3 separate regions of the Homo sapiens genome follow, and all the other regions are linked to region 2. Evidence: promoter capture Hi-C in 16 types of primary human blood cells and fetal thymus (Javierre and others, 2016). All regions are on one chromosome and are shown on one strand. The core of a region is centred on a gene start or on the middle of the fragment in contact, and the rest is flanking DNA. Distances in the headings are between cores, read along the strand shown. Region 1 overlaps SLC9A5 (solute carrier family 9 member A5). Region 2 holds the start of CDH16 (cadherin 16). Region 3 has its middle 2.3 kb from the start of TMEM208.

What was found. The method cuts DNA at HindIII sites, captures the fragments that hold promoters and counts their contacts. A CHiCAGO score of 5 or more calls a contact.
Region 1: a fragment that was not itself captured here is called in contact with the fragment with the promoter of CDH16 in region 2 in 1 of 17 cell types (total CD4 T cells); the score reaches 6.0 in total CD4 T cells.
Region 3: a contact is called between a fragment that was not itself captured here and the fragment with the promoter of CDH16 in region 2, in 8 of 17 cell types (non-activated CD4 T cells, naive CD8 T cells, total CD8 T cells and 5 more). The highest score is 7.6, in non-activated CD4 T cells.

The regions. Positions count from the first base shown.
Region 1 is chr16:67,261,215-67,265,441 of GRCh38, forward strand. It overlaps SLC9A5 (solute carrier family 9 member A5), which reads left to right. Exons shown (of 16, transcript NM_004594.3): 13 at 3,138-3,308; 14 at 3,826-3,892. It overlaps LOC124903701 (a long non-coding RNA gene), which reads right to left. Exons shown (of 3, transcript XR_007065092.1): 3 at 1,181-4,227. Among named protein-coding and RNA genes, the nearest start is that of SLC9A5, 14 kb to the left of the region's middle. The HindIII fragment of the contact is 3,362 bases long and covers 1-2,937 here.
Region 2 is chr16:66,916,135-66,920,319 of GRCh38, forward strand. CDH16 (cadherin 16) reads right to left here and starts at 2,751. Exons shown (of 18, transcript NM_004062.4): 1 at 2,670-2,751; 2 at 1,887-1,944; 3 at 1,508-1,591; 4 at 140-295; 5 at 1-69. The coding sequence starts at 1,931. The HindIII fragment of the contact is 16,817 bases long and covers 516-4,185 here.
Region 3 is chr16:67,222,944-67,226,711 of GRCh38, forward strand. It overlaps the pseudogene FBXL9P. Among named protein-coding and RNA genes, the nearest start is that of TMEM208, 2.3 kb to the right of the region's middle. The HindIII fragment of the contact is 1,538 bases long and covers 1,110-2,647 here.

The sequences.
Region 1 (4,227 bases), core at 7-2,506, 340 kb after region 2:
CACAGCCCAAGATCCCTCCAGCCTTGGCTCACCACCCTGGGGCCCCACATTGTCCTTAGAATCTGCTAAACTCCCAGGTCTTCCTCAGTTAATGGCTGGCAGACCCTGTCTCACTGCATCCTATGGGGTTTTTAAAAAACCTTTCTTATTCAAAATTCCAGTAGAACGAATAAAATAACTCATATTTATCTATCAACCAGCACTGAAAAATCAGTGCATGATCAATTCTATTACATTCTGCAGCCCTACCACATCCCTCCCACACTTTATCTTAAAACAAACTCCAGACATCGTATCACATCATCTCAAAATATTTCAGTATGTCTCTCTAGGTGGCAAGAACTCTTACATCCAGTCAGTATTCAATAAATATCTTTTCCCCGCTGGATGTTCAAATCAGGGTCTAAATAAGTCCACACTTAGCATTTGGGAAATATGTCTCTTCATTTAAAAAAATCTATAATAGTTCTTTTTCCCCTCTCTATCTCCCTTGCTATTTATTTATTGAAGAAGCTGGATACTTTCTCTTGGAGAATTGCACATTTTCTAGATTTTGCTGACTGTATTCCAGTGGTGTTGTTTAACATGTTCCTCCGTTCCCTATATTTCCTGGTTGTTAAATCTAGAGGCCTGATCAAATTCAGGGACATTCAATAGGTATGCTATATATTTTCTGTGGTGTCACATCAGGAAGTACATAATGATTTGGTGAGGTGTGTGTGTGTGTGTGTGTGTGTGTGTGTGTATGTGGTGTTTATGTATAAGATTGGTCAATGGGTTCAGTCCAATCGGTTCATGTGTAGTCTGTTTTTTAAAAATCTGGAATAAGTTTGTGTGTATCCTGTTAAATGTCATCTTATTTGCTTTAGCCCATCATCCCATTGTTTGGTTCCCATGTCTGCCACCAAATGTCTCCTTCTTAGATTCATATCATCTGAAAATTTGTTAAGCCTGTTAACTTTGTATTCATCCAAATCCACATAAACATGTTGAACAGGATAGAGCTGAGGACAGAGCCCTGTGGCATGCTACTAAAGACTTTCCTCCAGACTGACATGGATCAAGCATTTTTGGGGTATGGTAACTCAACCAGTTCTGAATCCACTTAGTATGATAACACAATCCACAATTTCTCATGTTCTTCATCGAAATATCATTAGAGAGAGACAGAGATATCTAGTTTTCAGTTAGAAAGATAAGATTATAGTTTAATAGAGAGATAAGGGCTGGAGAGAAATTTGGAAGCAATCTGTATCAGGTTTTGTCACCTGGCTACCACAGAATCCCCTGGGGAACTTCCTGGCTTCACCTGGAGATTCTGATTCTGTAGTCTGGAGTGGGACTAAGAATCTGTGTTCTTACTAAGTTCCCCAGGTGATTCAAATGCAGCTGGTCTGATGACTGATGTTGGGGGACCACAGATCTGTATCACTGGGATAGCTGGGGCAGAGAGAATGGATAAGTTCTCTGAGGAGAGTGTTTCATGGGGCGGGAGGAGGGCTAAGGATAACACTGAGGAGTGCGCATGGGAGAAAAGGAAAGAGAGCCAAAGACAAGGAACCCTTGGAGAAGCAGTGGCAGGTGGTGCCTCAGGCCTGGGGCAGAAAGAGGGCTGGATGCTGCGCAGAGGCCTGGCCAGCACCTAGGCAGAGCCCACAGCACTGGTGACCAGCAAGAAGGCAGCACTGTGGAGTTGTGGACCCTGGAGTTGCATTTCTGGTTTTTAAGGAAATAGTGGGTAGGAGAGAAAGTGTCAGAATCAAATTATAAAAGTGTAGCAGCAAAAGGGAGACAATGGTGTTCAAGGGAAGACTTTCTTTAAGGAGGCAAGGGCAGGAGCTTGAAAACAGAGGGGAGGGAGCCAAGTGGTGAGGTAAGGAGTGAAGATACAGGAGAGTGGAGGAATAGGAGGCAGCAGGAACTGCTGGAGGCAGGAAGGAGGGAACTGAGCAATGTGGAGGCCGGGGCTGGGCAGCAATGAGCCTTGTGAAGGAGATGGACCCCTTCTCCCCAGGAGAGAGGGTACCTCCTGGTGCATAGGTAGATGAGGAGGGCAGATGGAAGACTTGAAGGGGGCTCTTAGAACTGGTTCAGGGAAGCAGAAAATATGAGATAAAGGGACCAGACTTGGGATTTGAGGCAAGATAAGATGATTTGGCAGGCACTGGGAAGCATTTCAGGGGATTACCACTAGATGATGAAAAGGTGCTAAGCAAGGAGGGTAGAGGCAGAGGCAGTCTAGGTGAGTGTGTAGCGGGCTTGGTGTTGATAAGAGTTAAAAAGAGCATGGCCAGGCGCAGTGGCTCATGCCTGTAATCCCAGGACTTTGGGAGGCCAAGGCAGGCAGATCACTTGAGGTCAGGAGTTCGAGACTAGCCTGGCAACATGGTGAAACCCTGTCTCTACTAAAAATACAAAAATTGGCCGGGTGTGATGGCAGGCACCTGTAATCCCAGCTACTCGGGAGGCTGAGGCAGGAGAATTGCTTGAACCCCAGAGGCGGGGGTTGCAGTGAGCAGAGATCGTGCCATTGCACTCCAGCCTGGGTGACAAGAGCAAAACTCCGTCTCAAAAAAAAGAAAAAAAAAAGCAGATGATGGGGGTGATCCTGAATTATTGGGACTGAGAAGGTCCAGGGTGTCAGGGGAGATAGTTATGAAAGTTCAAAGTGCAGCCCAGGATATCATGGTGGTTCTTGTAGAAATGGCTAGATAGGAGATTCCAGCTGGAGAAAGGATCCTGTGTAGCTAGAAGGGGGCAGGTAGGCTGGGTGTGTGGGCGAAGCTCAGATAAATGGAGGTACAAAGAAAATGTCCCCCATGTTGTCACAGTAGTAGAACAAGACAGAGGGTCACCTTCAAACCAGAGAGAATCGGGAAAGGATGGCAAGGGTTGGGGAAGGCCAGGTTTGGGGGAATAAGTTCTGGGATAAAGGGAAGCTTTTCCCAGGGAACTGAGAACACAGGGTCTCTGGCTGGGTTCCTGTTGTATTTTTTGTTTTGTTTTTCAATCCATTGTTAATTCTGGAAAAGCTGGGCTGGCAGGTCCTGTGGTGAATATGTTGGGGCTGTGGCCTGGGGTTCTTGTGGGAGGCCAAGGCATCCATCCTCATAGCCAGGCGGGGCTGTCATTGCCAGTACAAAGCCAGCTGCAGTCGCCACTTCATCTCAGAGGATGCGCAGGAGCGGCAGGACAAGGAGGTCTTCCAGCAGAACATGAAGCGGCGGCTGGAGTCCTTTAAGTCCACCAAGCACAACATCTGCTTCACCAAGAGCAAGCCACGACCCCGCAAGACTGGCCGCAGGAAGGCATGTCTTCCCTCAGGGACTCCTCTTGGGAGCTGGAGGCTGACAGCAAGCAGTTTTGAGCCCCCTAGTGTTAGGATCCAGCTTAGGGGGAACCCCAGTTGGGACAGTCCTCAGGGGCTTGATGACTACAGCAGTTTGGGTTCCCTTTTAGATGTTCCTGGAGTCCCAGAAGGGTAAGGTGAGACCTTCAGAGGGGGAGCAGCCTCTTGGCCATGTGGTCACCTGCTGGGAGGCAGCAGGGCCGCCTACCAAAGATGAAAAAGGCAGGAGAAAAGGAGATTCCTTTGAGGGGCAACTCCATGAGCTCCTAAGTCAGCCCACGCTGATGCATCCAGATTTCTTACTGGGGCATGGGTCACTCTTGCCTGGTTGGCCAAGGGATGGTAGAACCACTGGGACTGACATAAATTCCCTCCCCTGCTGGGTTAGGAAAACTTGTCCTGTTGACCCCACCAGATGACAGGGTTGGGGTGGGAAGCCGGGGCCAGAGGCTCAGGTTTTCTTTCTTGGTCCTCAGAAGGATGGTGTGGCGAATGCTGAGGCTACAAATGGGAAACATCGAGGCCTGGGCTTTCAGGACACAGGCAAGCAGGGAGCAGTGTGGGATTGAGGATGGGAGGGAGGAGGGAAAGGGCTGGGGCTTGCCAGCCAGAATCCTGGAGGACCCGCTGTAGGGTGCATTCAGCACCGTGACCTGGGGCTCTTCCTCCAGGGACTTGATTTCCAAGTTGGAAATGTTCAAAGCAGTTATTAGACAATGCGTGACAGGAGGCATCTGATTGCTAACTATGGGTTACAGGCCCCGAGGACTTGGAAAATGTGTCATGGAGATGGGGGAGTTTGGTCTGGGCCTTGGAGGATGGGTGGACTCTGGGGCCCAGTGTCCTGTCTGCAAAGCCAATTTTGTTTTGTTTTTTTG
Region 2 (4,185 bases), core at 1,501-4,000:
ATCCTTCACGTGCACAAGCACAGGCTGTGGACCCCACAAGACATGTCCATCCTGCATCTCCAGGGTGACCTGGCAGGGAAGGGGAGTCAGCGTCTGGCTCTGCCTTGCCTGCTCTCCCCTACACCTGGCCCAGCCATACCTGTAGCTGGTACTCTGCCTGCTCCTCTCGGTCCAGGGCCCTGGTCACCAGCAGGAAGCCAGAATCTGGATCCATAGCAAATGGGCCCTCAGTTGCCTTGCCTGAGTCCCCTGACAGCACGATCTGGCCTTCAGCCCCCTCACGGGGCAGCGGCAACTGATGGAAATGAACAGAAGTGAAGGGAGCGGTGGCCAGGCCTGGGAGATGCCCCTCCTCCACCTGATGGCCTCATTTTACATGTGGGGAAACTGAGTCTCAGAGACATCTGGCTCCTGTCAGAGGTCACACAGCCAGTAAGCATCAGGACTGAGACTCAGAGCCAGAACTCTTTTCCCTGGACCTGATGCTCCCCAAAACTCTCTGCCCTTCTTTCTGAAGCTTGAAACCTCACCACCGAGATTTCGTTCTTTAATCTAAAGCTCTGCTCTCCACTAGGATTAAAATCTGTTAGTCATTCCCACTGCAGGTTGAGCATCTCTAACCCGAAAATCTGAAATCTGAAATACTCAAAATCTGAAACTTTTTGAGCGCCAATATGATGTGACAAGTACAGAATGCCGCATCTGACCTCATGTGACAGGTCACAGTCAACACATAGTCAGAACTTTGTTTCATGCACAAAATCATTAAAAATATTCGCCCAGGAGCAGACTCACACTGGGCTCTTGGCCACTCAAGGATTCTGTCGGAATTTCACCTCTGTACTGTCAGCTCCTTCTGGCCATAGCCTCCCCAGCTCGCAAATCCCAAAGTGGTAATCCCAGCACTTTGGGAGCCCAAGACGGGCGGCTCACCTGAGGTGAGGTGTTCAAGACCAGCCTGGCCAACATGGCGAAACCCTGTCTCTACTAAAAATACAAAAAAAAAAAAAAAAAATTAGCCAGGAGTGGTGGTGCATGCCTGTAGTCCCAGCTACTCAGGAGGCTGAGGCAGGAGAATCTCTTGAACCCAGGACGTGGAAGTTGCAGTGAGCTGAGAACATGCTACTGCACTCCAGCCTGGGCGACAAGAGCGAAACTTCGTCTCAAAAGAAAAAAAAATGTATAACGTTACCTTCAGGCTATGTGTATAAGATGTATATGAAACATAAATGAATTTCCTATCTAGATTTGGGTTCCATTCCCCAAGATATCTCATGATATATATGCAAATATTCCAAAATCTGAAGAAAAAAAAAAATCCAAAATCTGAAACACTTCTGGTCCCAAGCATTTCAGATAGGGGACACTCAACCTGTGTAACGTGTACATACTCTCTGGAAAGCAGGATTTCAAAGAGAAACAGCAAGAGGAAGGGTGCCAGAGGAAGGAGAAGCAGGACTTTGCGGGGAGGGATCCCCCCGGCCCCAACCCCAGCTCTCCGGCTCACCTTGGTCAGGTATAAAGGGAAATTTCCACCATAGTTTTCTGGAACTTCCACAGACAGCTCTGCAGGCTGGGCCTTGGGGAGAGCCTGTGGGAGGATTCTCACCTTGTCACCAGGCTCTATCTTCCTGCGTGGGCACTGAGACCCAACAGAAGAGCGGAATTTCCGCCCCTTCCCAGGGCCTGGCTGTACCTTAGTCCATCCACCCGCGCTCTGGTCTTTGACCTCCTCATCCCACAGTGGCTCTATAGTCCCAGCTCTGACCCCTCCCATGCCTTGCACCGTTCTCACGGTCAGTGCAATTGGTCCAGGTGGAGTTGGGGGCAAGGGTGTCAACCCCCAAAGCCAAGACCTGAAGGAGAGGGGGCAGGGCCTAGCTCACCTGGGGGACGGAGACACAAAGCAGCCACAGCCAGGCAGGGACCATGGTCAGGACAGGCCTGAGGGACACGGCAGTGAGGATCCAGCCCAGGTGGGTAGGGAGGGGCTTTCCATCCCACACACACAACTAGTGGGATCGTACTGCAGACTAGTCTTCTCTTCCTCCCCTCCAAAGGAGCTGAGGCTCTCCATCTCCTGCAGGGTAGTGCCCTGCTCCTCGGCCAGGCCCACCAAGGCCCCCAGGCCCAGCCACCCTGCTTCTAGGCTCTTGGTCCATCAAGCACTCTATCAGAATTTCACCTCCAGACCTCCAGCTCCTTCTCACCATAGCCTCCCCAGGCCGCAGATCCCAAAGTGGTAATTTTCTAGCAATCCCCCAAATCACAAAAGTTTGAAGCTGGAAAGTTCCTGAAGACTTGGAGGGTCACTTCCTGAAGTCACCTCTTGTTGCAGGCAAGGCCTGAATGCTGGGGTCTGGCCAAGGTCACAGAGGACTTGACCACAGGAGGAGTCCTCCTAGCTCAGGGCCTCTGGGACTGTCCTGCCTCCCACTGCCACCTTCTAGACAAGGAGAACCCCCGGAGCAGGAGCCCGGCCCTTGTCTCATCATTTTCCAGCCCTTGTCATGGAGCTGGGCAGGCAGAGCAGCGACAAATCGACAACCCCTCTAAGATGAGGCCCTGGGAATTCTTTCCCAGATGGCGAGGACAGGGCAGTGTTTCTCCTTTCCCCACCACCAACCTCAGCCTCAGCCATGCCCTCCCCTCCACTCCCAGCCCCTCACCCTCCAGCGCCCAAGACTGGCTCCCTTGGTCCAGCTGCCAAGCAAGAAGAGAGCTCCTTCTCCAGGGGGCTCTGGCCAGGCTGGGCTGGGTGGGGCAAGGCAGGGCACTTGAGCAGGTAGGAGGGTTCAGCCACGCTTGCTCAGGAGTGGAAAAGGCCACTGGGCCCACAGCAGCAGGCCTGGCCCCGCCCAGCCCCCCAAGTTACTCATTGACTTTGGAAAGCCAGGAGCTGCTCAGCATCCGTGACTGCCAGCTCCAGGAGGTGGGGAGATGGTTGGCCTGGCACTCCCTCGACCCCAGCACAGCCCAGGAGGTATTCCTTGGCCCTCTGGTTCTGGACGTTACTTTTTCTGTGGCTCCAGACTTGGTCTGACTTATCTCCCAGGCTCCAGTGTCTGCAGCCACACCTTTTCACACTCTGTTCCTTTTGCATGGAACACCCTTCCCACTCATTCATCTGTGTGGTAAGCACCTGCTCATGCATGCTTCAGTGCTCAGCTCAAATATTCCTTTTTCCAGGAAACTTCCCCTATGTTCCCAGGCTTGTTCAGGAGCCTCCTCTGGGAATGCCCCTCCCCCTCACACCATGCCATGTGCTATCTCTATTAATACACAGAGGACACCAGCTTGTCATTGTCTGCCTCTTCCATTAGATTGGGAGCCCTTTGAGAGCAGAACTCAGGGACTCAGGAATGACCTGGCTCTCATTCTGCCCTGGCAGCTCCGCATGGCTTGTGGAACTAAGACAAGGAGCTGGAGGTTGCAAAGGATGGGTGAGCAGTACATGAGTGGAAGTGGGTATTGGGGCTCCAGACCACCCCCCCCAGGGGGACCTGTGGTGGGGGAGTGCAGCAGCCTATGAGCTCCCGAAGTCCTTACACTGGCCACTCAACAGTGACAGGGCTGAGACAGTGGGCAGTCTCATGCCCCTAAGAAGATTAAACTGGCTCAGGTGACCTTGAGGGAGTTGCAGGGCTGAACAGGGGCTCTCCCCGCAATGAGGGCAGCCAAGCAGAGCCAGGAGATGCTTCTGGGGCCTGGGAGTCTGGAATGAGGGGAGAGGGTGGGAAGAAGGTCTCCAGTCCCTCTCCAGCCTTGGAGCTTCCCATGGTCCCCACGAAGTCCTTCCCACTGTACATCTGATTAGTCTCTCTCAGGCCAGAAGCTACCCCCAGCTGCCCCCAGCCTTGTCACAAGCTGAGTGCCTGCTTCAGGGTCACTCTGGCACCCAGCCTGGAGCAGTGTAGTGTGGGGAGGTTGAAGGGGGTTTCACACGTGTTAAGCTCCTGCTCTGTGCCCAGCACTGCTCTGAGCACATACCTTCATTATGCCACATACTGCGTTCTGAAGGGGCATTGGGCACATGCTGGGGCACAGAGAAGCTGAGTGGTTTGCCTAGGGTCACACAGTCAATAAGTGACAGAGCCAGGAAGGCCTGGGGACCCTCACTTGATCTGAAAATACCATGCCTTCTGCATTCCTTGAAGTATGTGGGGAGGAGGGGCAGAGCAGCAA
Region 3 (3,768 bases), core at 629-3,128, 310 kb after region 2:
AATGGGCTCCTTGATGGTCACCAGGAGAAAGCCAAACTCTGCTGCCTGGCACATCTGCCAGCTTGCAGCCTGATGCCATTCTAGCCTCGCCTCCTGCCATGTCTCACTTAGTTCCAGCCAAATGGAACTTGTGTGATTGGTTCCACACCATGGTGCCTTCACTTATGCTATTACTGATCCCAGAAGCCCAACCTTTCTTCTCATCCTGTTCCTTCAGGAAGCCTTCCCTGACACCACCAGTCTCCTCTGGATGTCCTTCTTCATGTTCCGTCAAACTCTTTTTTTTTGAGACAGAGTCTCGCTCTGTTGCCCAGGCTGGGGTGCAGTGGCGCGATCTCGGCTCACTGCCATCTCTGCCTCCCGGGTTCAAGCGATTCTCCTGCCTCAGCCTCCAAGTAGCTGGAACTACAGGTGCACACCACGCCACCACACCCAGCTAATTTTTGTAATTTTAGTAGAGACAGGGTTTCACCATATTGGTCAGGCTGGTCTCGAGCTCCTGACCTCAGGTGATCTACCCGCCTTGGCCTCCCAAAGTGCTGGGATTACAGGCGTGAGCCACTGCGCCCGGCTGTCCCCGTCGAACTCTTTCTTCCCAGTGTCACAGCGCTGAGCACACGATAGCATGATCATTCATATTACTCGTCTTTCTCCTTCACTGGAATGTGAGCTCCTTAGGGAACTATGTCTTATTTATCTGTATAGCCCCAGCACTGTACCCAGAGCCAAGTATGTATGAATGTATGTATATATGTGTATGTATGAGCATATGAATGGATGGATGGATGGATGGATAGATGGATGGAGATACATGAGCAGGGCCACGAGTAAGCTGAAGTAAGAAACACCTGAGGATGGGACGGGGGAGGGTGGGTGCCTTACCTCCCGAAGGGCATTCTGGGCAGCACGGTACCAAGCCCAACTCACGAGGGAGGCCTCTTTCTGATCTGACAGAGGCAGGAAGCTCAGAATATATGTGAGCATCTGAGGGAAAAAGACAGGGCATTGGGGACTGTTAGAGGTGGGAGGTCTTTGGAACCCACTCCAGCTGACAGCACCATGGGTCTGAGGGCACCAGAGCCCTGGCTTCTACTTTATCTTGGATGTGAAGCTTCACGAAGCATTCACTTCCCCGCTCCAGGCTTCAGGTATCTTTCCTGTAAACAAACCTTTCCTGAGCTGGGTGCAGGCTTGCACTGACTGATAAGAATCAAACTTCCTGCCTAGCTGGGTAGAAAAAGCCTGGGCATTGAGGCCAGATAAACCTAGTTCAAATCTCTACTCTGCCAACTGACCTCTCGAACTTTGTTTTCCTTATCTGTGAAATTGCAATTGTAGTGAGATTTAAATGGATTATTGTGAGAATTAAAGAACACAGCCAAGTGTCTTGCATAGGACCTAGAGCACAGCAGGCCAGGTGTGCTCACTCTGGTCCTCAGGAAGTCATGCTTGGTCCTCCTGCCCTCATGGCTCAGGCTCTGGGACCCTGCTGTTTTTCTGTCTTCTTCACTGCCACCTTGCCCTCTCCACTGGTTGTTAAGATGCGCTCCCAGCAAGACCTAGCCTGGGAGGCTCAGGCCCTTCCCCCCACCTAGGGGGTGGTGAGGTTAGAGGTCCTAAATGGGACTGGGGAAGGGGTTACCAGTGAGGCCTAGAATGATTTGATATTAACTCTTCTTTTCTTCTGGAATCTTCCTCCCTGCATCCCAATTGTCTCGTTTTTGGATTCTTCTGTGGCTCCCAGGGCTCAGACCTGGGTCTTTTGGTTTTCTGTTTACCAACACAGGAATAACCAACAATTCAATATTCCCATATTGTCCTATTATCCAAGTGCTAGTCCATATTGCCAACTGTCCATGCAAATGTTTAGCCATCACTTTAATCTCAACCAAAACTCATGTTCTACCCTCAGCCCAAAACAGCCTCTCCTCCCAAATTCCCCTTTCAATGCCAACAGTGCATCTACCTGATAACACTTTCAACTATTCAAACCATTCTGTCCCTTCCTCCCAGATACAGGTGTAATGCACAGGCTTTAGGCCAGGCTAACCTAAACTCATTCAAATTCCAGCTCCACTACTTCCACATATACTGATGTGTGACCTTAAACAAGGTACTTGACCTCTGGGAGTTTCAGTTTCCATATCTATAAAATAGGGATACTTTAAAAAAATCTAGATCATAGCCTCATGGGGATTAAATTTTACATATATATAGTGTGTGTGTGACAACTAGATGTTCCATAAATGGTTGCTGGATTGCTGTTACTAAAATTTCTACCTCTGCAACTTCCCCACCTCAGTAGCTCAGATTTCTACCACCCCAAACCTGGATTCCTTCCACAATCTCCCACCTGAACTCTTTGCCTCCAAGTTCATCCTTGCTAATACATTATGCACACTGTCACAAGGTTAATTTTTCCTATAAAACAGTTTTCAGTTTCAGCTCACCCCTGCTGTAAAACTTCAGGGTTCACAGTACTCTCAGGACAGTCTCCACTCCTGGATCAGCACTGCCAGGCCTCTGTGCCTGATTGGACTCGCTGGTCCCCAAACTTCCCCAGTCCAGTCTCCCCATTGCCCTACGCACACAGCATGTCTATTTCCTTTTGCCTATGCGGGCCTTTTCCCTGGGATCCCCTTCTTGAAGCTTAACTTCACCAACCCATTGTGATCTCTCCTTCCTTTCTCAGATGCCAAGCACGCAGGCACAGTGCTCAGCCAGTGCTTACTGGATTAAATTAAGGTTGGACAGTCCAGTCCTCTACCTCTATTTTCACCAAGAGTATGCTCAGGGAAGGGGTCGGGGAAATAAAGCAGTCATTACTGAGAGGACAATGACTGGCAGAATAGACTTCTGGGCCAGGAAGGGAGGCATAGGGAAGACAGTATTGATGGGGACTGGGACTGACCAAGTCCCAATCCCTCCAGGGAGGCACGGAAGCCTGTTTGAGCTGAGTTAAGACAGTGGCCATCCTGTCTTCTGGGGCTAAGCAGCCAGCCCAAGAGCAAAGGGAGAGGGGAACAAACCTGTCATCCCTTGGGGTGAGTCGGGAAGGGACACAATTCATTGACCTAAGAAGAGGGTGGCCTTTCTAGAGGGACAAGAGGAGGCAGTGATGAGGATGGAGTGACCATCCCATGAGTCCCATCTCAAGGGGGCTACTGGAGATAATGATTGGTCACTCATGGGGTCTATGGGGATGGAAATAGATAGCCCCTAAAGCTAAGGGGGAAAGGGATAGCACTGCAAGCTCAATAGGGGTGGGAACAGGCCTATTTTTGCTAAGGACAGGAGCATCATTCCAGGACCGATGGGAAAGGGTGGCCTGTTTCCCATGGGCAGAGAGAGGGGGCTGCCAACCCTCAGGACAAAAGAGATGGAGAAGCCATTCCAACAGGCCACTGAAGACAAAACCTGTTATCTCCCTGGCAGATGGGGCAGAGTGGTCTTGCCCCTGGCTAAGGGGAAGGAGCAAACATCCCACGGAGTGAAAGAGGTAAGGGCGGCCATCACTAGGGGCCTAGGAATGGGGAACAGGCCTATCCTTGTTAAAGGAACTCAGAGATCATTGCAGTTGATGGGGAGGGAGCAGTCTGTTTCCCACTGCCAGGGAGAAGGGGCGGCCGTCTCTGTAGGAAATGGAGAGATCATCCCAAGGGACCAATGGGGATAAGATCAGTTACCCTTCGGGACGATGAGATGGAGCGGACATCTTCCAGAACTGAGCGGGGAGGAGACAGCCACTTCAAGGGAAGGGGATGGGCA